Regions from separate parts of the Homo sapiens genome. Here all the other regions are linked to region 2. Evidence: promoter capture Hi-C in 16 types of primary human blood cells and fetal thymus (Javierre and others, 2016). All regions are on one chromosome and are shown on one strand. Each heading gives the region's core, a stretch centred on a gene start or on the middle of the fragment in contact. The rest is flanking DNA. Distances are from core to core; before and after follow the strand shown.

Evidence for each region. The method cuts DNA at HindIII sites, captures the fragments that hold promoters and counts their contacts. A CHiCAGO score of 5 or more calls a contact.
Region 1: a fragment that was not itself captured here is called in contact with the fragment with the promoter of NTAQ1 in region 2 in 6 of 17 cell types (naive CD4 T cells, total CD4 T cells, non-activated CD4 T cells and 3 more); the score reaches 7.0 in naive CD4 T cells.
Region 3: a fragment that was not itself captured here is called in contact with the fragment with the promoter of NTAQ1 in region 2 in 7 of 17 cell types (naive CD8 T cells, M1 macrophages, naive CD4 T cells and 4 more); the score reaches 6.5 in naive CD8 T cells.
Region 4: a fragment that was not itself captured here is called in contact with the fragment with the promoter of NTAQ1 in region 2 in 1 of 17 cell types (M1 macrophages); the score reaches 5.6 in M1 macrophages.
Region 5: a fragment that was not itself captured here is called in contact with the fragment with the promoter of NTAQ1 in region 2 in 1 of 17 cell types (M2 macrophages); the score reaches 6.9 in M2 macrophages.
Region 6: a fragment that was not itself captured here is called in contact with the fragment with the promoter of NTAQ1 in region 2 in 4 of 17 cell types (naive CD4 T cells, total CD8 T cells, erythroblasts and 1 more); the score reaches 6.8 in naive CD4 T cells.
Region 7: a fragment that was not itself captured here is called in contact with the fragment with the promoter of NTAQ1 in region 2 in 1 of 17 cell types (M2 macrophages); the score reaches 5.0 in M2 macrophages.

Annotation. Positions count from the first base shown.
Region 1 is chr8:123,682,762-123,686,490 of GRCh38, reverse strand. ANXA13 (annexin A13) reads left to right here. Exons shown (of 11, transcript NM_004306.4): 10 at 1,769-1,881. Among named protein-coding and RNA genes, the nearest start is that of KLHL38, 31 kb to the right of the region's middle. The HindIII fragment of the contact is 5,117 bases long and covers 1-3,729 here.
Region 2 is chr8:123,415,066-123,418,485 of GRCh38, reverse strand. NTAQ1 (N-terminal glutamine amidase 1) reads right to left here and starts at 1,712. Exons shown (of 6, transcript NM_018024.3): 1 at 1,554-1,712. The coding sequence starts at 1,636. It also overlaps a transcript of ATAD2 not described here. RefSeq lists silencers at 974-1,023, 1,344-1,543, 1,654-2,133 and an enhancer at 946-1,540. The HindIII fragment of the contact is 17,257 bases long and covers 1-3,420 here.
Region 3 is chr8:123,756,682-123,759,977 of GRCh38, reverse strand. The region is part of intron 1 of LOC105375739 (a long non-coding RNA gene); the gene reads right to left. Among named protein-coding and RNA genes, the nearest start is that of FAM91A1, 10 kb to the left of the region's middle. The HindIII fragment of the contact is 3,275 bases long and covers 343-3,296 here.
Region 4 is chr8:123,726,379-123,729,794 of GRCh38, reverse strand. The region is part of intron 1 of ANXA13 (annexin A13); the gene reads left to right. All of the region lies in intron 1 of LOC105375739 (a long non-coding RNA gene), which reads right to left. Among named protein-coding and RNA genes, the nearest start is that of ANXA13, 9.3 kb to the left of the region's middle. The HindIII fragment of the contact is 3,043 bases long and covers 491-3,416 here.
Region 5 is chr8:123,773,230-123,776,886 of GRCh38, reverse strand. FAM91A1 (family with sequence similarity 91 member A1) reads right to left here. Exons shown (of 24, transcript NM_144963.4): 2 at 2,723-2,807; 3 at 1,589-1,740. Among named protein-coding and RNA genes, the nearest start is that of FAM91A1, 6.6 kb to the right of the region's middle. The HindIII fragment of the contact is 5,525 bases long and covers 1-3,657 here.
Region 6 is chr8:123,701,556-123,704,871 of GRCh38, reverse strand. It overlaps ANXA13 (annexin A13), which reads left to right. Exons shown (of 11, transcript NM_004306.4): 3 at 2,136-2,230. Among named protein-coding and RNA genes, the nearest start is that of ANXA13, 34 kb to the left of the region's middle. The HindIII fragment of the contact is 1,118 bases long and covers 1,139-2,256 here.
Region 7 is chr8:123,790,607-123,793,915 of GRCh38, reverse strand. All of the region lies in intron 15 of FAM91A1 (family with sequence similarity 91 member A1), which reads right to left. Among named protein-coding and RNA genes, the nearest start is that of FAM91A1, 24 kb to the right of the region's middle. The HindIII fragment of the contact is 1,624 bases long and covers 949-2,572 here.

The DNA of each region.
Region 1 (3,729 bases), core at 441-2,940, 270 kb before region 2:
CTTTCTTTCTTTCTTTCTTTTTTTTTTTTTTAAGACACAGTTTCACTCTGTCACCCAGGTTAGAGTGCAGTGGTGCAATCTTGGCTTACTGCAACCTCTGCCTCCCGGGTTCAAGTGGTTCTCATGCCTCAGCTTCTCAAGTAACTGGGATTACCAAGCCTGGCTAATTTTTATGTTATTAGTAGAGACGGAGTTTCACCATGTTGGCCAGGCTGGTCTCGAACTCCTGACCTCAAATGATCCACCCACCTCGGCCTCCCAAAGCGCTGGGATTACAGGTGTGAGCCACCATGCCTGGCTGCAGTGAATAATTTTATTCCACATCTTCTTTGGCTATCCCTGCCCAGCCTTTTGAGAGATTCCTGCTGCTGCTAACAACAGAGGTTGTTCCCCAAGCATAGATTATAGACAGGAGAAATGTTGAGAGTTTTCTTCCTGAAATATCAGGTAGAAGGAATGTCAAGGGAGAAGATCCCTGTGCAGGAGCGGAACACGGTGACTTCAGGCAGACAATGATCCCCACATCAAGCCGTGCTGTATGGAAGAGGATTTTCAGGAAAACTTTGTGGTGCTCATTAGCTCAAATTGTCTGGGGATCACAGTAAGTCTTGAATATGCTACTCCCCAGAATAGCATGCAAGTTTCCCCTGAACCACCAATCCAGCAGCTTTTGGGTTGTTCTCAGGAGAAAGAGGCCAGACATTGTTTCTTTTCCGGTGCGATTTTCTTTTCCACTGAAACTGTGGCAGCTGCCACATGGCCTGTAAAAGGCGGCTGGTCCCCAAACTAGACTCTCCTTCCCGAACTCTGCTCCTCTCCCCTGCTTATAAGCATCAATCACACAGACAGTCCCCTAGACAACAACAGCCCCATTATGGGACATAGTAAGATTGCACATTCCACATTTATGCTGAAATAATCACTTACTGTTAATCACTAACATCATCAAGTGTTCTAGAGAAATGTTAACAGCCTAAAGGGCAAATATTTTTTTTTTCCTCTAACGTGTTAGCCATGATGGATTCATATGAGCCTGGGAAGAGGGGAAGGAATGATTTATTCCCAGGAGAAGAGATGCACCCTGTCACCTGCTTGATGAATAGAGACCACGCTTCATTAAGCTGTAGATAGATCAAAGCTGGAAGGCAAGGGGAAGCCAGGAAAGAGCAAATAGCAGCATCGTAGGAAAGTGATCTTTAAAAAGGATCAAACATTTCATCAAGTCCACATCCCGGATTGCAAACCAAAAGATCGTGGGGAACCTGGAAAAGGTTCAGAGATGAGGCTTGCAAAACAACCCCAGTGAGGAAAAACAAAGAGTAGGGAGGTTGTTGAGCATAGGAGAGCAGGCGGCTGTCCAACTGGATACATTGTCAAGATGATGAAGTTTTGTTCCAGAAGGTTGCTGGCCAATCTGTTTCCCTTCAGAACCCTAGGACAGCACCAGAGATTTCACTCGATAGGGAAAGTTATTTCTGCTGGGAAATAACGAGAATCATGGACGTGGCCGGGAGGGCCCGAGGATGCCACAGCTCTCCTCTAGAGGGTCTTCAGGGGACAGGAGGGGAGCTATGCTTGAAGATTCCAGGTGCTCTGACCAGGGAATCTTCCAAATCTCATTTCGCAACGGTGTCAAGTCAGCTCTTTTCACACCTCTGTCTCACCATCCAGTCAGCTCGAAGGGCAGCCAGGTGACATTTAGGGGGGTCCCAAGGTCATTCCACAAAACGTGAAAGCCTCACATTCTCTTTTCCTTTGTCCTGCCCAGTGAGATGTGCCCAGGATTGTGAGGACTATTTTGCTGAACGTCTGTACAAGTCGATGAAGGGTGCGGGGACCGATGAGGAGACGTTGATTCGCATAGTCGTGACCAGGGCCGAGGTAAGACACACTCCGACTCCAAAGAGGCGGCTGCAACTTCTCTTTTTTCCACCACTGATGTCATCAACAAATAGTTTCTATTAAGGGCCTATTTACAGAAAAAGTAAAACAGAGACGGCCCCTTGCCTTCCCAGAATTTGCAGAAGACATTGTGCTCTGCTTCAATCTGTTTCTTTTTATAAAAATACAATAATGATCGTTGCTTCTTTTTTTGTCCTCTGTGGCTCTGGAGAGCTAGTGGAGGGGCGCAGAGGCAACCATGTCGAGCAGTTCTCAGGGGCTGCAGCTATGCATGGCTCCATGTTAAGGAAGACAAAACAAACACACTTGAAAGAGGTCAACCAGCAGCAGGAACAAAAAGAGAATGATTTCTGAATTCCTGAGTGAGGCCTTTCCTTAACTGAACACACTGCAGAAGCAAGCACATCAGCATAAGGCAATGGTTCTCAATCTTTTTAAAAACTATTGCTGTTCTAAGGAACCTTTTTAGACACGTGTTTCTTCATTGCCATCCCTTCCCCACAAGAAATGTTAACACCAGAGATAATACTACAAATCTGTTTATATACCATGTGGATATCAGTGCTTTATACATAAAAAAATTAAGGGCTTTTTCACCCCCTAAAAACCAATTTGTGCTTGCTCTCGGAGAATGTGTATGTATAAGAAAGAAAAGGGAGAGGAAGAGCCAACGGCTTGGGAGCAGCCGTCAAGATCACAGCTGGTCGGGTGCAATGGCTCATGCCTGTAATCCCAGCACTTTGGGAGGCCGAGGTGGGTGGATCGCCTGAGGTCAGGAGTTCGAGACCGGCCTGGCCAACATGGTGAAACCCCGTCACTACTAAAAATACAAAAATTAGCTGGGCATGGTGGCACACACTTGTAGTCCCAGCTACTCAGGAGGCTGAGGCATGAGAATTGCTTGAACCCAGAAGGTGGAGGTTGCAGTGAGCCAAGATGGTGCCACTACACTCCAGTCTGAGTAACAGAGCGAGACTCGGTCTCAAAAAAAAAAAAAAAAAAAAGGTCACAGCTAACAGTTCGGGATATGGGGCCACAGACAGAAGGTGGTACAAAATAAAGGGGAAGTGGCATTTCATCGGCAGCAGGAGAAGCCTTGGGGAATGAAGTGGAACTAAGCACTTGAAAACCACAGACATCTTCCCTCAAAAAAAAAAAAAAAAAGTGGTTAAATGAAGGGGGAGGTGAAGGGGGAGGGACACCAACCCAAATTCTGATCCATGGCTTCTTAACAAATAATGCTTAACATCTGACACTGTTTTTAAATATAACTTTGCAACAAGATGGTTCTTGCTTTTTTATTTCTATTCCTGGAATTTCTCCTCCCCTCCTTTCTCCTCCTCCACAACTCATCTTTTTCTATTGAAGGCCATGTCTCTCTCTCTCCCCTCTTTCCCTTTGCCAGTCTCTCTGCTCTGCTCCTGCCATGCCTCTGCCTCTCTCCTCCATGGCTCCAAATCCCTCTCCCTCCTTTCTCTCCAGGTCTTCTGCCTTGTCCGTCCCTCTGTCTGTTAGCAACTCGACCTCCAGCCAAAGTCACTGAGAGATGAGAGATCTTGAGGGACTCAAAAGGGACAGGTTGAACACAATGAAGACCCAGGATTCCAAATGACCCCCAGAGAGACTGGATCCATCCGAAGGGCTTGTGAGGGTTCCGTGATCACTCCGACATGGCCCACGGAGTGTTTTATTCCAAGAAGCTCTGTCCCATCTCAGAATCAACCACACGTCCTGGGCCATCTCAACATGTGGGCAGTTACCTCAGAAGGCTTCAGGCCTGGCTAGATATAGTAGTTTGGCCAGATTTCCTAATCTCCCAAAGCCACA
Region 2 (3,420 bases), core at 463-2,962:
TACTTGTTTTTTTGGCTTTTTATTTTTTTTTTTTTTTTGAGATGGAGTCTTGCTCTGTTGCCCAGGCAGGAAGGGGCAGTGGCATCAGCTCACTGGAACCTCCACCTCCCAGGTTCAAGCGATTTTCCTGCCTCAGCTTCCCGAGTAGCTGGGATTACAGGTGCACGCCACCACACCTGGCTAATTTTTGTATTTTTAGTAGAGGCAGGGTTTCTGCATGTCGGCCAGGCTGGTCTCAGACTCCTGGCCTCAAGAGATCCGCCCACCTCGGCCTCCCAAAGTGCTGGAATTACAGGCGTGAGCCATCGCACCGGGCCTTATCTGCTTTTCTCTCAAAATGAAAGAACCAAGGGATCCATGAGGGAATTTGTCGATTTTGTTCACTGCTATATCCCCAGTGCCCAGAAGTATGCCACATACTCCAAGTGCCTAATAAACATTTATTGAATGAATGAATAAAACAATGACTGGACATTAGGGAGGAGAACTAACGGGATTTAGAAGAGAGGCAGGACAGAAAAATAGTGCAGTAGTTAAGATGCATGAACTTCAGAATCACGAAGAGGTTCCAGTTTCAGCACCACCACTTGCTAGATGTGTGATTTGGGGGCACAGAACAGCCTCTCTGTGGCTCAGTCTTTTTATTAGTAAAATGAGGATAACGATAATAAAAGAAGGTACCTCCTGGACATCGATGGAAGCACCTGCCACTGAGCCTGACATGCAATCAGGGCCGAACAAATGTTAAGCTCTTGGTGGCATTGGTTTAGTGACCAGCAGAAGGGGGAGGAGTAGGTTTAGATAGCACTGAGGTTTCCTGTACAAGGACTAGAAGCTGGGGAAGAAGCCATTACTCAGGAAAGAGTAGGTATGAGGACTAAGGCAAGGGCGGTACTTCAGCTGCAGAGGTGGCCTAGGACAGGGGTGCACTGCGTGGATTCCGGGGCCAGACCCTGACTGTAAATCCCCACTCCTTCATTCACAAGCTACGTGGCCCTGCGCAAATTACTTGCAGCCCTCTGTGCTTCAGTGCTCTCATCTTTCAACTGGGGATAACAATACCTACCTCTTACGGTTATTGTGATGCTCAGTGATTTAGTTTACCTAAACCACCCAGAACAACGCGTGGCATATAGCAAGTGCTGTATGAAAAACTCTCCGTGCCTTCATTCTCTTACAAAATTAAAATGACCTTCACCTCAGTCTGAAACCCCACAGGCTTCAGCAGAGTAACCCCCAAAGATTTTCAGAGCTCCACCCTTCCTGGCCCCGAAGCAGAGATCTGCTGAGCAAATCCAACCGACAAGCGCCAGGCACAGGTAATGCACTATCGACCCTATGATTCCGGACGAATTCCCAACCCCATCCAATAGCCCACGCTCTACTCAAGAGACGAGAGCTGCCATTCCCGCTCCCTCCTCCCGCAAAACTGTAGAACCCGCCGGTAGAGGCCGGGAGCGCCCCCGAGGAGGGGCCGGGAAGAGGCGGGGCCCGGTTGCGACTCGCCGCCCGGGAGCCTGGGAGACCCAGAGGCTGCGCCCGCGCCCCCTCACCAGTAGCAGCTGCTGTAGACGCAGGCGTCCCGCGGGGGGCTGGCCGGCTGGTAGTGGACAGCAGCGGGGCCATTACCTTCCATGGCCGGCTAGCTGGGCCAGGGCCCGGGCCGGAGGAAGACCGACTGGACCAGACGTAGGAAAGGGCGGGCTTGTAGTGGCCCGCGTGGGTTCCCGGCGTGGGGTGGGCGGAGCCCGGGGGGAGAGGGCCGGGGCAGTTTCCGGGTGGTGGGGCCAGTAGCGCGGTGGGCGGGGCCAGGGCGGGACTAGCAGCACGAGTTCCCGGCGCGGGAAGCCCGGGACGAAGTAGGCGGAGCTCGGGGCAAGCGGCGCCAGTTCCTGGGAGGGTGGAGCCCAAGCGAAGTGGGCGGGTCCGGGGTGGGGTGAGTGGCGCGAACTCCCGGTGGGCGGAGCCCGGGACGAGGAGGACAGCGCGCTTCCGGGTAGGCGGAGCCCGGCTGGTGGGTGGGGCCCGGGATGGGGCGGGACTGGAGGACCGGGCTCTGGTGGGCGGAGTCAGGGGCGGGGCCCCGGTGAGCTTTGGGAGAAGAGGGGTCTCTGGCGGCGGCTTGGGGAGGAGCTAGGTTTGGGCTTGGAGTTGGGCCCTGAATGGCGCTTTGCTGTGAATCTCCGCGGGGAGGCTCTTCCAACCAGGGGCTGAGCTTCTGCGCTGTGGAGAAGCCAGGTGAGACACTGAAATAACAGAGGTTTGGGTGTGAAAATCCACGCTTCTGCACTCAGCCTGGAGTCTGCGGGAGCCCAGAGAAGAGGGGAGTGGAGGTTAATTCCAATATGACCGCATCGAGGACGCTTTCCGAAAGGGATAGCACCCCAAATCTCACTCTATTGTAACTTAATCTTTTAAATTGGAAGGCCTGTAGCTATTGGCTCGAAAAGATATATTAATTCCCTGATACAGTAAATTTGAAAAAAAAAAGTTTAAAGAGTCCATATGGTATCCTTTTTGTGTTAATCATATATTTTGTTCAATTACTGGCAGTCTGGAAGAAAAGACACCATATTGTTAAAATAGTGTTTAGGGCCGGGTGCGGTGGCTCACGCCTGTAATCCCAGCACTTTGGGAGACCGAGGCGGGTGGATCACGAGGTCAGGGGTTCGAGACGAGCCTGGCCAACATGGTGAAACTCCGTCTCTACTAAAAATACAAAAATTAGTTGGGCGTGGAGGCGCGCGCCTGTAATCCCAGATACTCGGGAGGCTGAGGCAAGAGAATCGCCTGAACCCGGGAGGCGGAGGTTGCAGTGAGCCGAGATGGTGCCATTGCACTCCAGCCTGGGCAACAGGGTGAGACTCCGTCTCAAAAAAAAAAAATAGTGTTTATCTCTGGTGAATGAATGATATTAATATCAGGGACTTTCAGTTTCAAGGTCTTTACACTTTACAGTCTTCTGAATTGTTTATATTTGCAATGAGCATAGCTAGCTAATCAGGGTACTTCCCATTATAAAAACTGAGATGTTTACATTGATTTTAGCCATCCACAGTTGGATTCTCCAATCTCTTCAGTCTCAAAGCTGATAAATCCTAAAGACTTGGAGCACAGTTCCTGTGTCAATTACCAATTTTATTGCCTCTCAGCTCCTAATACAAACTTCCACATAGCCTCTATGCTATATAACAACTCTGGTAAACATTTCTCCTTTAAAGTGAGTGGGAAACCCTATAAGCTAGAAGGGATTGGGGCCCTATCTTTAGCCTCCTCAAACAAAACAATTATCAGCCAATAATTTTGTATCCAGCGAAACTAAGCATCATATATTAAGGAAAGATACAGTCTTTTTCAGACAAATGGTGAGAGAATTTGCCACTACCAAGCCACCACTACAGGAACTGCTAAAAGGAGTTC
Region 3 (3,296 bases), core at 731-3,230, 340 kb before region 2:
CGACATTCTTGCTAGACTCGTGTCAATGACCAGAAAGCCCCACCTACGTGATAATTTATCCTTTTATTTTTTAGCTCTTCAGTGTTTTATGATATATTATTATATCATGATCATTGTTTTAATTCTTGTCTTTAAAATCCTGATGAACATATTTAAATATGGAGAGTGTGCTAAGTTTATAATCTGTCCTATGTTTACATAGAACGAAAAAAAATTCCAAATGTGACAAAACACCAAGTCAGGGAAAGAAATGTGGGCTGGCTTAAATATTTAAAGAGATTGAGGACCTTTAGAGTTTCTTGCTCCGTGTGTGGCCACTGGATTCAAGGGAAATCAGAAGCTTATTGTTCCATTGATAAGTAAGCCATAAAGTTAAAGATTCACCACACATTGCATGGAAAACCAATAGCTGGTACAAGCTGGTACCATATATTTATTGCTGATATGAGAAGCTAAGCACACCTGCTATTAACAGATAATGACATGGTACTGTGAGAGAATACACAAGGTAACATACCAGAGCAAATTGGTCACACCATTGCATCATGCTGATGATTGTTAATGGACTCTTCACTAAGACACTTCAGACTCCCTAAACCAGTAGTTCTCAACTGGGGGCAGTTTTGTCCCCAGGGGACATTTGGCTATGTCCAGAGACATTTTTGGTTGTTACAACTGGAGAAGGTGCTACTAGCATCTAATGGATAGGGGCCAGGGATGCTGTGCTACAGTGTATACAACAGTCCCCCACAATCAAGAGCATCTGGCCCAAAGTGTCAATAGAGTGAAGGATGAGAACCCTGCTCTAGATGACAAACCACTTGGCATGAAAATGCACTGTAAAAGCATTCACTTTATGCTTCTGACCCCTAATCTCAATTAGTGCTAAGATATTAGGTACAATAATTTTACAGGAAGCCATGTCCAATCTATTCATATCGTTGTCAGGTAGAAGGTAGTGGCCTGAATTCACCTCCCCATTTGACTGTGTACTGAGTGACTTCTGGTTAACTGTTTTGTGCCTCAGGTTCCTTATCTGTAAAATGGGGATAGTAATAGTAACTGTCTCATAAGGTTGGTATGCTGTTAAAAAAAAAAACCACAAGTCATGTCAAGTGCTTAGAAGAGAGTCTGGCCCACAACACTAAAAAGTATAAACTTTTGTTATCACTGTTATCATCAATATTATTACTATTACTTGGCACAAAAAGGAATTTAGAGATGTGCATTTACCTAGACCAGTTTCCAAAATCTCAGTCATTTGAAGAATAATACGATTTTTTGAGTATCATCTAAACTATCATTTACTTAAGACTCTTCTTTAAATTGTCACACTTTGTACAAATCTTTTGTGTCATTCACAGGTTTGATATCTTAATTGTATTTTCCTAAAATACATGAAATAATGCAGTGCTATCAAAGTAAAGGTTTTTGTATGTTCCAACTAAAATCATCTCACATGTGCTCCATTGGCAGAGACGCAGCAATTACTGAAAATCAGTGGTATGCACAGCCTCAGATTTAGAGAGGAACTTAGATATCCAACCCCTTTCTATGGGATTTTTTGCCATTCATTTGGCTGAACCCACCTCCCTATAAATGCCAAATATTCTCACTCCCAGCTACCTTTGCACCTAACACCTGAGCATGTGACCTCAGCTGCATTGATCAGATATGCTCATGCTTGAGTCTGAATCCGAAGCTGGTGCTGAAAGGAAGCAGGGACTGTGTGAATCTTCTCAGTCCCAATAAGATGAGCTCCTGGGGCTGCAGGGACATCCAGCCCTGGGCAGCTGAGGTGGCAGGGATTTTCTCACTTGTCCAATTTTGGTGTATGGTTTTTGGTGTTGTTCCTGACTCTGAAGTTCCAGACCTGGTTCTGTAGCCTTCTCAGATGTTTGTTGAGAGATCCTATATTGTTTAGTAAATCTTTTTTCAAAAATCCTTAATTCAGCCAGTGTCAGCTCCTATCGTTTGCAAATAAAACCCTGGCAGATACACTCTTACTTTATAGATGAGGAAACTGAGACTCACAAAAGTTGTGTTCTGCACAACGCAGCCATGGCTAGGTCAGGATTAGAACCCAGGCCAGTGCCTTTTTAGCATACTGCATTTCTAGCTCCTTTATGCTGGGTCAAACCTTGACAAAAAGTTGAGTCTGAAAAAAAAAGTTGGCTCTTCAAAAAAATTTTTTCAATTAACACATAATAATTGTACATATTTATAGGGTACAATGTGATGTTTCAATACATGTATACATTGTGTAATGATCAACTCAGAGCAATTAGCATATCCATCACCTCAAACATTTGTCATTTCTTTGTGATGAGAATATTCAAAATCCTCTTCTAGCTATTTTGAAATATGCATCATTGTTTGCTATAATCACCCTACTGTGCAATAGAACACCAGAACTTATTCCTCCTATCTAGGTGGACCAACCTCTCCCATCTCCCTCTCCCCTCTTCAGCCTCAGATAACCACTGTTCTACTCTTTACTTCTACAGGATGAACTTCTTTAGATTCATATGTGGATATGACTGAGGTCATCCAGTATTTGTCCTTCTGTTCATGGCTTATTTCACTTAACATAATGTCCTCTAGGTCCATTCATGTTATTGAAAATGACAGGATCTCATTCTTTTCTATAGCTGAATAGGGTTCCATTGTGTATATTTTTAAAATTTATTTATCAGTTGATATGGTTTGGCCGTGTCCCCACCCAAATCTCAAATTGTAGCTCCTATAATTCCCATGTGTTGTGGGAGAGACCTGGTAGGAGGTCATTCAATCACGAGGGCAGGTCTTTTCGATGCTGTTCCTGTGATACTGAATAAGTCTCACGAGATCAGATGGTTTTATAAAGAGGGGTTCCCCTGCACAAGCTCTCTCTTGCCTGCCACCATGTAAGATGTGCCTTTCACCTTCTGCCATGATTGTGAGGCCTACCCAGCCACATGGAACTGTGAGTCCATTAAACCTCTTTTTCTTTATAAATTACCCAGTCCTGGGTATGTCTTTATCAGCAGCATGAGAACAGACTAATACATCCACTGATGGACACTTAGGTTGATTTTATATCTTGGCTATTATGAATAGTGCTGTAATATGCATGGGAGTGCAGTTATCTCTTTGTCATACTGGTTTTATTTCCTTTGGATATGTATCTACTAGTGGGATTGTTGGGTTATATGGTAGCTCTATTTTTAACTTTTTGATGAAACTCCATGCTGTTTTCCATAGTAGTTGTACTAATTGACATTCCCACCAATAGTGTATAAGACTTCTCCTTTCTC
Region 4 (3,416 bases), core at 763-3,262, 310 kb before region 2:
TGGCTTAAATAACAAAGACATTTAATTGTCAATTCTAACAGGAGCTCTGAATTAAGCTGATTCCAGTGTTGGTTCAGCAGTTCAGTACATCATTAGGGACCCAAGCTATGTCTGCCTTTCTGTCAGACATACTCTGGATGTATTAGCAATGTCTCCCCACCTAGGTGCAAGATAACTGTCATGTGTTCAAGTTAATGATCTCTCAAGATAGTCACAAGCAAGAAGGAAGCAGATAGAGGGAAAAAATACCTTCTTGCTTATGTACATCTCCCCTATCAGGGAGGAAAATCTTTCTGCAAAGCTCCAAGCAGCAGACATCCCTTTCTATCTCACTGGCCAGAACTGGTCAAAAGCCCAACCCAAGACTGGCAAAGAGGAAGAGGAGAGCCTTGAATCATAATTCATCCCTGAGGCTGAACAAATCATCTTCTCAGTTCTCTCTCTCTTCTTTCTATGTGTTGGCCTCTTTCTCTCCTACTGAAAATAAGCTTTTTGTTTTCCTCGTATGGGAAGCAAAAGGGGCTGGTGAGAGGGAGGCATGGCCATAGATAGTTCAGGCACCAAGAGAACTCCATGGCCTCACATAGCTCCAGATTAGCAGCCTCAAGGAAAATCTCTTCTTTCTCTAAGTATCTGTAAGATGTCAGGGAAGAATTCCAGTTGGCTTGGGTCATGGACCTACCCTGTGAATAATCATAGTAAGTAAGGTTGGCCTTATCTTTATCATCACCGCTTTCTTATAACTATTATATTTATTAATATACTACTGCTATTACTACTACCACTACTGATACTAATACTACTAGATGGACTGAAATAGAAGGAGGATGCAAACTTGAAAATCAGATAGAAAGGGAGAAAATAATTCTCTTTCCAAATAATGGGGACTTGGATGGTTGTAGTAGGAATGAAAAGGAAGATAAAATGTTAAAGATAATTTTAAAGAAATAATAGACTAAAAATTAATTAATTAACTAAAAGAATTAATTTTTTTGGATCCAATGCATAAACTCTTCTACCAAGGGAAAGAATAACATTCATTGTTTTGATACTGATTGAGACAGAAATTTGCTCAAAGCAAATTTAGCTATTTTACCTTGTTTCCTTTTCAGCAAATCAGAACTTGTCCACATACTGTTGACTGCATCCTGCTACACAGCACATTTGATGCCATGAAGGCCCCGCTCAGCCCCCAATATTCTCACTTTTCAATTCCATCTGCCCACTTATCATTGACTCTTGAGGATTCCAGAGTACACTTGCTACCTTTTTTCCTGCAAGTAATGAATCCCATGTTCATACTCTCATTGAATTGGCAAAAGACGACCTTTGGCAATATAAGAAGGAAATGGATCATTCTTTTCTAATGAGAAACGTGCTTCATTTTTCATAACTCCTGAAAGCATGGTTCCTTTCACGGTTGAGAAATATCCATCATCTCCACACAACCACTTTATCCTCCAAGTTCTCTTTTGTTGATGCAATACAGTGGTAATTGGATATCTGGAAGTTTAGCACTCTTCAGAGGTCTCCAACTCCCCAAACAATCTGTGGACAACCTCAAAGCAGACAGTCATTTTCCCCAGGACACAAAATCTTGTTTCCACATAATGAATGTTATTCTGCCTCTACTAGAAACTCCAAGTTCTCCAGCCCAACACAGCACTCAAGGGCCCCTAAGAATGAGTCAACAGAGAGATGTCACTTGGGCACGTTGCCCTGCCGGTATAGGCTGGGATGTTCACAACAATCTTGATGCAGACAAAGAAGCAGGAGGTGACAACAGGTTTCTCACTTTGAACTGATCTCAGCTCACACCTTCCTCCTAGTTACCTTATCTCAGCACTCATCTTTCAGATTTGTCATCTGGGTTTCTTTGCAAAAAAATTAAAGAATGTAAGACATCATGGTCCATTTCTATTCTTCCCTTTTAAGTTACCACAGCAATTTGCCCTTGGTGACTGGAGGCCTTGCTTTAGTCAGCACCTGTGTGCCGTTTACCACCAGAGGCTTGGCCTTCTCCACACTTTTTAAAGAGACCCGTTGACAGAATCGTTACAACCATTCAGCCAGGGTTGTGGACCCTTGGCACATTCGTCCTTGGCACTGCTGACATTTGGGACCAGGTAATTATTTGTGTGTGTGTGGGCGGGGGGAGGGGGGCTGTCTGTTCTGTGCATTACTGAAGGATGTTTAGCAGAATCCTGGCCTCTATCACTAGATATTCCAGTAATACTCCCCTACTCGTGCCAACTGAAAATGTCTCCAGACATTGCCAATTGTCTCCTGGGAGACAAAAATCGCTCCTGGTTTATTGAGAACCACCGCTTAAATGGGAAAACAAGGCTCCAGGGCAGATGTCCTCAGAATGTCTTTATGTCACTGGATCTCCACCAGAAATCACCATTCCTGCCCTTCTGGCCCAGGCATGTCCCTACACTGATTTCTTCTCTTATAACAGAGAAAAGTCAGCTTCTCCTGAAGATTGACCCTTATCCTCCTGTTGATGACAGCAGCAGCCAAGAGGCAGCAGTTTTTCTCAAAACTGTTAGCCCATGAGTAACAACTTCTTCTTTTTTAAAAATTCTTTATTTCTGTAGGTTTTGGGGGAACAGGTGGTATTTGGTTACATGAGTAAGTTCTTCAGTGGTCATTTGTGAGATTTTGGTGCACCCATCACCCGAGCAGTATACACTGAACCCTATTTGTAGTTTTTTATTCCTTACCCTCTCCCACCCTTTCCCCCAAGTCCCAAAAATCCATTGTATCATTCTTATGCCTTTCCGTCCTCATAGCTTAGCTCCCACTTATGAGTGAGAACATATGATGTTTGGTTTTCTGTTCCTGAGTTACTTCACTTAGAATAGTATTCTCCGATCCCATCCAGGTTGCTGCAAATGCCATTAATTCATTCCTTTTTATGGATGAGTAGTAGTCTATTGTATATATATACCACAGCTTCTTTATCCACTCATTGATTGATGGGCATTTGGGTTGGTTCCACACTTTTACAATCGCAAATTGTGCTGCTATTAATATGCATGTGCAAGTATCTTTTTCATATAATGACTCCTTTTCCTCTAGGTAGATACCCAGTAGTGAGATTGCTGGATCAAATAGTAGTTCTTATACCAGAGTGAGAAGGGTTTCACTGCAGAAACCCTCAGTAAAAAGGCTGCTGGGCTGCTGGATTTCCTGCCTAGATGAGCAGTGCTCCCCTGGAAAGACACAGGCTGGAACCTTCAGGAGCTGATTGGCTCACCTCTCCTCTGTTTGGGTGTAGCCCCCAAAAGGGCTACCCCACTTGGACTCCCTATACCACAGCTCAGTGCATGGCAGGATGCCCACATTGTTTACACTCCTGAGGATACCATCAGTACCTTCAGGTACAATGGTGCCCACCAGTTTAAGGCACA
Region 5 (3,657 bases), core at 651-3,150, 360 kb before region 2:
CCATCAACATGCACTACCAATGAAGACTACAACCACTTAGTGGCCTTTGATCCCACAAGTCCCAATCTGTAGAAGAGCTAAACTTGGTATCCAGCTTTTTCTGCCCCAATCTGTTTCTCCAATAACAAACCCACTGCTTCCTGTGGGGATAAGGCCCGTTTTCTACCGAGGAACTATACCCAATGATAGAATAACAGAAACCAGAATGCAGCAACCATGTGGATGTAACTGAAATGAAAGCTGATAAGTGAAACAAAAACTCCACCTATTTTAGCTCCCAAATTTGTGGACTACACTAGAAAAATAAAGAGACAGCAGTAACTATTCTACTTCCTGATTAGCTGCCACCTTCATTATGCTACCCTGGTTCTTCACTATGCTACCTGGGCTATCGGGCCTCTCGCTTTCCTCCAGTATTTCCTCCAAAAGAGGAACACGGGATGCATGGGACTGCAGAAGCACCCATGAAGGAGGGGCTTCTGGAGATAACGAAGGGAGCAAACAGCAAAGCACACATCGTATGTAGGGCTAACCTCATGTTACCACACGTTCCCAACTCCTTTAGTTCTAGGCTCCTCTCTGCTCTTCAAGCGGCTAGTGAGCCCCAAACAGAAGCACTCAAACATAATTAAGGAGCAAATGAATACTAAATAAATACTGCCAATCTTTAATAAAGCTCACTTGAAAACAGTATATAACTAGTATTAAAGTTATCCAATACAAGCCTAAAAGCTGTCTTTGGAAAAAGGCTAACAACTAAAAGTTAATAATTATAGAAAGAGATTAACAGCCAAGACTACTAACATATTTCTCTTTTCTGGCACCTGTATTATATAATGTTGGGTCTATGTCATCATTCATTCTTTAGACAGTTAGTGAATAGTTAAATACATTAATTTTCTTTTCTTTTCTTTTTTTTCTTTTGAGACAGTCTCACTGTGTCACCCAGGCTGGAGTGCAGTGGCGCTATCTCGGCTCACTGCAACCTCCACCTCCCAGGTTCAAGCGATTCTCCCCCCTCAGCCTCCTGAGTAGCTAGGATTACAGGTGCACACCACCACGGCTGGCTAATTTTTGTACTTTTAGTAGAGACGGGGTTTCACCATGTTGGCCAGGATGGTCTTGATCTCCTGACCTCATGATCCACCCACCTTGGCCTCCCAAAGTGCTGGGATTACAGGCGTGAACCACTGCTCCCAGCCTAAATACATTAATTTTCTCAGAACATAATGTTCAATTCTGTCACCCACATTTTCAACCTTAATCACGTTTTAAAAAGCAATAAATTTTACACAGACTCTGCCAACATAAATGACTGATCAGTACTACAACAGCACAAAGGGTCAATAGCACCTTCAAGACCAGAAGAGAAATAGACAGCTTCCCAATGTAAAAACATCAATAAGGATAAGTACTTGTACAGTGTGGCTCAAACAGTTAACAAGCCACCAATAGTCCTTTTTACACTATAAGTTCTGAAAGAGTGTCCACCGCAGACGACAGCTGAAGAGCTGGTGAACATCTGCAAAAAGTCCCAGACATGTAGTCCCATCCCATTCCCACTGGCTCACCCACACTGTAAACTCACCTCCATAATCCCAGTATAATATGAAAATGGTGTTATCCTCAAGCCTTTCACCATAATATCCGATAGATGGTAAGGGTACAGCATGAGATGATCTCGGCTGTACTTTAGCAGTTCCTCATAGTATCTGCGTTCATCTTTCTTGACATGTTTAACTGCACAAAAGAGGGAAATTCTCCAGTTTTTTTCAGGTTTCTTATAGTTATATATTAACTATGAACACTTTACAAACCAACAGTAATTTAAAAGAAAAGTATGTAAATTACAAGAGAACAAATAAAATATTCTAAGTTGGAACAAAGAAATATATCACATGAAATAGATTTTAGAGTATAGAAGTAAAATGAATAATAGGACAGATTAGTAGAGAATAATTCTTGCCAAATGAGAAAACAAGCATGGAACTACCAGCATGCCCCCCAAAAAGGTACAAAACAGAGCTTTATTGAATTGTATTCTACTACCTTACAAGAGAGCCAAACTGAATGCTCGTTTTCAATGAAGTCAAGTCTATTTTTAAAAATTATTTGCTGCTTTTTTAGTTTTTAAATGTAAAAAGCCCTCTGACTTTCATGGAAAATGTTCATGAAGAAAAACAATGTCAGAAATATTATGCTTAAAATAAGAGTAACAAACAGGAGTGAAAGACTACCAGGGCAACAGAATAGACTAACCAAAATAATCTGATAAATAAACAAATTTTTTTTTAGAAAGAAGAAAAAAAAATCATGGAATGAACTATGTTTAAAATGTGTCCCAATTATTATAAAGTTTTTCATATTATTTGGAAAATTTATGGAGACAACCCAAAGTCAAAAATTACTAAGAACTAATATACTTTTTCTTTTATGGCATATTTTCTTACCTCAGGCAAAAAGAGGACATTTGAATTAAGATTATTTTATAGATAAAATGAGTCCATAAACAGTACTCTAAAAATAATTTTTATCAGAATTAGAATGAAAAATCTACTTGCTAATACAAATTGTTGTTAGGTGGAATGGATCAGTGTAGAGTTTCTTAAAGTCTGTACATGGAATAATCTCAGTACTATGAAATATGTATTGAAAAGAAAGATTTACGAATGTGAAAGAGTAGTGGTCAGTTCCACCCCAATATAAACATGGCTCTACTTACCTAAGTTATTTCTATATCGTAACTGATTGCGGATACTGTACAGGACAACCTGCTTTTCATATTCTCTCTGTGAATTTCCAAGACTCTAGGAGAAATTTCAAAAAGATTTTAAACAACTTCCAAACTGAACAATAGTACTATTTTTTCCCATAACACACTTTAAAACCACGACCCCCATTTTTATCCTGGCATCTCTAATTTGCAGAATTAAATAAAAAATATTTTCTTAAATGTTATTATACTAACTTTCCTGCTACAGTATTCAGAGCAAAAATTCTATGTATTTTCAGTCTGCCTTTCTAAAAGAGTTTACTAAAATTATCCGAAGTATTTAATATCAAATAAAAACCGGTAGGTGAGTGTAACTTCACTTTGGTTAACAAAGAACTAAGTTCTGCTTATAAAGATTTCCTTCCTGACTGCTATATTAAGTGGTTGGATAGATGGTTTCCTGCCCCTACATTTATTTAAATTTAAGAATGGCAACTAAGGACAGATACATCCCTCTTTGATAATTGTAGCTGAGGGTTATAATTATTAAAGATTAGGATTTCTGGAAAATTTACATTTAAATGTACGTAAGATTGTTTCTTAAAAATGCAATCTCCTGTGGCCTCATTAGAAGGCATTTAGACAATTTTAGAATTCGGAGCCATTTTTAATAAGCTAAAGTCTTTCTAGTATGCACTTAGTGTTTTGTTGCAGTGTTCCTGAAAGCAAACAACGTTTGCCTGATTATAGTTAACATTATATTCACTGGGAGACCATAAACTTAATTTAATATATGACTGCTATCCTCCTCCTAATTTCTAGGTATGGTCTTTCCAACACACTATAAAGTGAAATTAGACATCTTAGGAAAGTAATGACAGAAAGATCAGAGGATTTAGTTCATCGTATTTCTTACTCATAGGTAAGCCAAAACCAAAGACAGG
Region 6 (3,316 bases), core at 448-2,947, 290 kb before region 2:
AAGGAGTGACTCCAATAGAGAGGAGAACTGAAAATCGAGTTTAAAAGGCCAGTGGAAGAATACAGGCCAATCAAGAACCCTGAGAGGGAGGTGATGGAGAGGAGAAAGGAAAGACTGGGAAAGGAGGTACAAAGCCATCTAGGAAGGTGTTTCACGCAAAGAATTGTCAACCGCAGGCCGGGTGCGGTGGCTCATGCCTGTCATCCTAGCACTTTAAGAGGCTGAGGCAGGTGGATCACCTGAGGCCAGGAGTTTGAGACCAGCCTGACCAACATGGTGAAACCCCATCTCTACTAAAAATACAAAAATTAGTTGGGCATGGTGGTGGGTGCCTGTAATCCCAGCTACTCGGGAGGCTGAGGCAGGAGAATTGTTTGAACCCAGGAGGTGGAGGTTGCAGTGATCATGCCACTGCGCTCTAGCCTGGGTGACATAGCCAGACCCTGTCTCAAAAAAAAAAAATAATTCCCGACTGCAGAATTCAAATGCTGCAGAACAGTCAGGTACATGCAGGAACCGAGAAGAGGTGCTGCATTGTGCCTCAGCTTCCTCTTCTGTAAAGAAGAGCTTGGACTAGATAGTCTCTAACATTTCCTCCAGCTCCAGAGATTGCTGACTGCTGTGCCTTGATCCCACCGAGCTCGATCACTGGGGTGAGCAGTTCATGGAGGGTGGTCCCTGTGCACACCCTGCATGGATGTGAGGCAGTGCCAGGCGCGTGGTCATTTACATCCCCTGGTGTCCCGGGTTTCCCACGTGCGTGCTTAGGACCACCGCGGACTGGACCCACACTTGGATTCTCGCATTTCATTCTCACAATAGCCTTGTATACTATTACCCTCATCTTAGAGGTGGGAAAACTGAGACTTGGCAAGAAAAATCACTTGCCCAATGTCATGCAGTCGGTACAGGGTGGAGCTGTGATTTGAGTCCAACCTGAATAAATCTAATGTGGGGTTTGATGGTAAAACCGTCTTTCTTATTCGCACACTGGAAATACCTGTGTCATCTTTCCGATCCTGGTTCCTGGTTCAAACAAGGACATTCTCCCCTTCTTTCTTATTCACTATAGTTTTCAGTACTGATCAAATTGCTGCCATGAGCTTGTATTACTTTGAGCATCAGGGGTAAAAAAGCTTCTAAAAATAACATAATCTAAAGGTAATAGGAGTTAAAAGGGGCAACCTCCCTTCATGGTTTCAATCAAGACTTCTCTCCTGAGATTAACAAATGTATGGGTGGGGTTAATATTGTAACAGTTTCAGCCTATATCCTAATCTTGTTCATGCAATTGTAAGCACCCAGAGGCCAAGGAACAGGCCATCTTTTTCCTTTTTGTTTTTTAAAACATTTTAATTGAGATATAATTCATGCACCATATAATTCACCCATTTAAAGTGTTCAATTCAACAGTTTTTATTATACTCACAGATGCATGCAACCACCACCACAGTCAATTTTAGAACATTTTCATCACTTCAAAAAGCAGCCCTGGACTCCAGCTACCATCCCCCTAGGCAGCCCACCCACCCCCAGCCACTAGTATACTTCCAGCCTCTGTATATTCTCCTGTTCCGGACTTTCATACGAATGGAATTATATAACATGTGATCTGCTATGATTGACTTCTTTCACTTAGCATAATGTTCTCAAGGTTCATCCATGTTATAACATCTATCAGTAATTTATTCCTTTTTCTGGCCAAATAACATTCCATTGTATGGATACCCCATATTTTGTTTATTCATCTTCAGGTGATGAACACTGGGGCTGCTTCCACGTTTGAGCTATTATGAGTAATGCTGCTATGAACATTCACATGCAATTGTTGGGTGGACATATGTTTTCATTTCCCTAGGAATAAAATTAAGGAACCAGCCATACTCGTTCCTCTTTCCACCACAATGCCTAGCACTGTGTGCCATGTGCTGTGAGGCCTCAATGGCTATTTGTCTAAGTGAATGAAAAGAATACAGTTTTCAGCACAAGGCATCAAAGCTAAGGGTCCGTTGGGTTCCATAGACACCTCCAACCACCTTTAAGCTGTGAGTCCTGGCTTCCTCACCCTGGACTAAAATAAACTTCCACCTTGTTTCTTATTCACTGTGGCTTTGTTTGTTTCTCCTGTATTTTAGGGACCAATGAAGCAGCCATCATTGAAATCTTATCGGGCAGGACATCAGATGAGAGGCAACAAATCAAGCAAAAGTACAAGGCAACGTACGGCAAGGTGATTCCAGGGGTGGTCAGCAAGCTTGCACCCAGCCATGGCCTCAGCCGTCTCGGCTTCCTCATGTCCCCAGGCCACGCAGAATATCTTTATAGCTTTATTGAGTCAGCCCAGGAGGAAAAGTGAAATAACCACTTAAAAGCATTAATGGAGTTCAGAAAAACTGAAATTGCTTTGTTAACTCAATAGCCTGTAAAATCAATACTCTTAAACTCATTTCTTAAATTGACTTCATTTTTCTATGAAGACCCTAGTCTTTTTTTCACTTAATTGGGACTAACTGTACATATGTAGCTAGATCAGTAATTTGAAAATCAGTTTCCACAAGTGGGTCTTTATACAGGAATTTTTCATAAGCGATTGTTACAGAAAACTACCAAAAAAACTCTCCATTTTATTAAGCTATCAACACCTATTTTTCTTTACATTTTCTTTCTTTTCTTTCATTCTTTTTATTGTTGAAAATAATTTTATAGAGAGAAGTCTTCAAGTATGCATTAGGCTTTCTTATTTCTTTATTAATATGTAATGAACACAACTTAAACTTTTCTTAATGTCATTAGAATTATCATTATGCAAAATGAATATCAATTATTATGCTGTATTCTCATTTATATTTTTCAAACTTTTACCATTTCAATCACTGTAGGTATAAATAGATATATAGAAAGATGAAGATGGGTTTTCCTATTTATTTGATACTGAGCAGGTAACAATTGCTTCAGGCCTTGGTCTTTTCATGGATAGAAAGAAGATGATAACTTAGCTCCCTTCTCAGGTTGCTGGGAGAATCAGTCAGGATAATGCCAGCATGTACCAATACAGGAAAAAGCTATGATAGCTATGATTGTTTCCATTTTACAAAATCACACACCTAAAAAAAAAAAAGAGAACCAGGACTCACATCCAAGTCTCACATCCAAGTCTCCTGACTTCAAGAACAGTATCCATTCCTGGAGGACCCAGTGCCATAAATAGAGCTATTTGCTTGTACACTAAATGGCCCAAATGGCTGTGCTTTTGTGCTTTTTCTGCTTCTCTCCTTACTATTAGGTGCGTCAATGTAATTTTTGATGAAAATAAGTG
Region 7 (3,309 bases), core at 511-3,010, 380 kb before region 2:
TACGAAATCCTATTGCTCTCTAAAAAGAGATATTTAACGTTAAAAGAAACTTCAGAAGAGCAAGGTAGCTATATCCTCCTTCAAGCAAGAATACATCTAAAAATATACATATATACATATAATGGCCTCCTGAAAATGCCTAGAAGCAATGAGCACAACTAACACCAGTATCTTGGTCTCTAATAGCAATCCCCAGTAAAAGACATTAGGCTCCTAGGACAAATGGCTGATTCCAGGACTGAGGCAGAATAAATACACAATAAGATGCTATTGCTTGGCCAGAAAGTAAAGAATTGCTTAGCGGAGAAACCTGGAGGCATGTCATAAGGAGAAAGGAGACAGGAGCAAGCTTAAAGGAAATCCTCATGGCAAAATCTGAGAAAACTGGGGCACGAAAATAATTGAGAGACAATAATGACTAATCGCAGACTACTGAAAAGATAAGAATTCATAAATTCATACAGAGAATACGAGAGAATGCCTGGTCACAACTGCTAAATATGGCAGAACTGCTCAAGTGGGGGAAAAATTACCAATTTCCAACCATCAAAGTACAGAATGGTTCAGGCAAGAACCACCAATGGATTCTAAATCTAGGAGGAAACACTGATGAGGAGTGGGATATCTGCATGGTCTCAAAGTATCTCCCCACCAATTGCTTATCAGTTGTGAGAGAAAAAAAATAGTTGACTATACAGTGGAAAAATCAGACAATGCATTAACTGGGTGATCAAAATTAACATCACCAATGAAGGGTAGATGGAAAGCATGGGGTGTGAGGAAGTAGGATGACAGGGTGAGGTATAGGATAGCAGATCACAGAATGTTTAACCATAACGTCAGCATATTTTCTGGGAGGGGTCCTAAAGGAAGGGCTACATCCTGGCTTAGGTTGAGGGTGAGTCAAAGTTCATGGGGCTGGAAGAAGGAGAGAAGCTTAAACAAGCTTTGGCTAACAAGCATTTTGTTCTGATTGATAATTCAGAACAGGCAGTTCAACTCACTGCTTATGAGGCAAAGAAAGGGAATTTGGTGGATCTGTTTCTGACCTTGTCATAGGTGAACAGAAGGGAGTGGGGAATTCACCTGTGAATCTTATCTAAGTCATACGGGGAAAAAGTGGGTCCTTGCACTAAGCCCCTTCCCAAAACACAAAAGAGTGAAGGGACGTCTTAACCCTCAGGCAAAATTCAACATTATCAATGTCAAGTATAGATAATATTTAATGTATACTACAACAGGGAAAGTAGGAAGTCTAAAGAGTTCATGGTGGTTAGAACACGTTTCTAATAGCTTGACAACTGTGATTGCTTTCCTACAAATGTGGTTTAATTCCTAAACATTTCCACAGTACTAGAATGCCAAATTATAAACAGTGGTTTTTATGTCTGACTTATACTAATCACAGTTAAACAATGTCCTTTTAAAGACAAAGATACCTGGGGGAAAAAAATCATGCTTAGAAAACGAGAAAAAAACAGACCACGCATGACTTTTATTTATAAACAGTACGCCGTGCTATTTAAAACCAAGGGATTAAGGACTCCTAGGACTAAGACACTAGTTCCATGTATAACAGAGTTTGCTTGTATAATATCACAATGCTTTTGCTTTATAGTAGATAACAAGTACTACATGATATACTCAAAGTATAAATTATTAGTGACATAAAAAGAAAATTCTTTTTCCTCAAACAAGACGCTTAAAACACCAATACTAGAGGATTTCTTTTTTTTCTTCTGAGACGGAGTCTCAGTCTGTCACCCAGGCTGGAGTGCAGTGGTGTCATTTCAGCTCACTGCAACCTCAGCCTCCCAGGTTCAAGCAATTCTCCTGCCTCAGCCTCCCGAGCAGCTAAGATTACAGGTGCCTGCCACCACACTTGGCTAATTTTTATATCTTTAGTAAACACGAGTTTTCACCATGTTGGCCATGCTGGTGTTGAACTCCTGACCTCAAGTGAACCGCCTGCCTCGAGCTCCCAAAGTGCTGGGAATACAGGCATGAGCCACCACACCCGGCAGAGAATTTCTTTTCTAAAAAAGAGTAAGGTTCAGTTACCAAGCCCAGTAACTGCAGAAAGCAACATTTCTCAACAGGCTGAGCATGAAGCCTTAATGCCCTAAGATATCCTCTACATAGAACGAATGACCTTTTTCATGCATTGAGAACGGTACTAATGTGCACCATCATTAGAAAAACTGAGAAATAGTCACGCCAATCATTTCCATGTTCTGCAATTCAGATGAGGAGCTAAGCTAAGAAATGCTGGTAGCAAAAATGAAATTTCATAAGTAATTGCAGGTTTGGTCTTAAGGGGAGGCATTCATCAAATTTAACTTTGGAGACCCAGCAATTATTCTAAGCAATTAAATCTCCAACTAGGGTCAGGAACAGTCTAACATTAAACCCACCTTAAAGGTTAGGATTGCACAGGACTATTTTCATAGAGAATAGGTTTAGATTTACCATTTAACTTACTTCATGGTACACTGACTATTCATGGGGAAAAAATTTAGCCCAGCCCAGACTACTAAGCAACAAATGTTTATGGGTAAATGAATACAAAGCTTAGCGTTCAAGAGAAGATAATATAGGGACAGGGCAATGGAAAAAAAAAAATCAACAGACACAGATTCAAGTCTTCCATTCCTGGCTCTTCCATTTACTAATAATATGGGCTTTGATGACTAAAAAACAAGCAGAAGATTTAGCTAATATAAACTCCAATTTCTTTATCTATAATAGGAGTTACACTTCACTGGTCACTAGTACTCTCTAATGTTCTCACATTCTGTGATAGGCAGGAAAGGACAATGTATTTCAAGACAGCTTTAACAGAGTATTTCAAATCATCTAATACATTATCTCCATAAATCACTAAAAAGTCCCAGAAATTCCAGGAGTTTTATATCCAAAGACATCCTCAAGACTGTGCCACTCACCACTGCTTTATCACATGATTTAGTATTTATTAACCAAAAATGGTTATCCATCAACAAATGCCTACCAGTAAGTGCTTAGGACTCTCGGCATTTGGCAATTTAATATTCTCAGTTTTAACTATTTATGAATGATCTCAAAAGCCCCAGTATGTAACAATCTGTAATTCTTCAGATAAGGCATATTAAGGCTGCAGAAGTGAATCACTTGATACCAAGTGAGTCTAGCCTCACTCAAGTAAACTACCCAGCATGTTTGTTCTCACCTATGTGACAGCTTGTTAAGTAACAGCTGAATCCTCCCTCAATTTTTAAAATTGAGCTGAAAAGAAAGCCAGATGCTAGTGAGAGAATAAATGAAAATGGA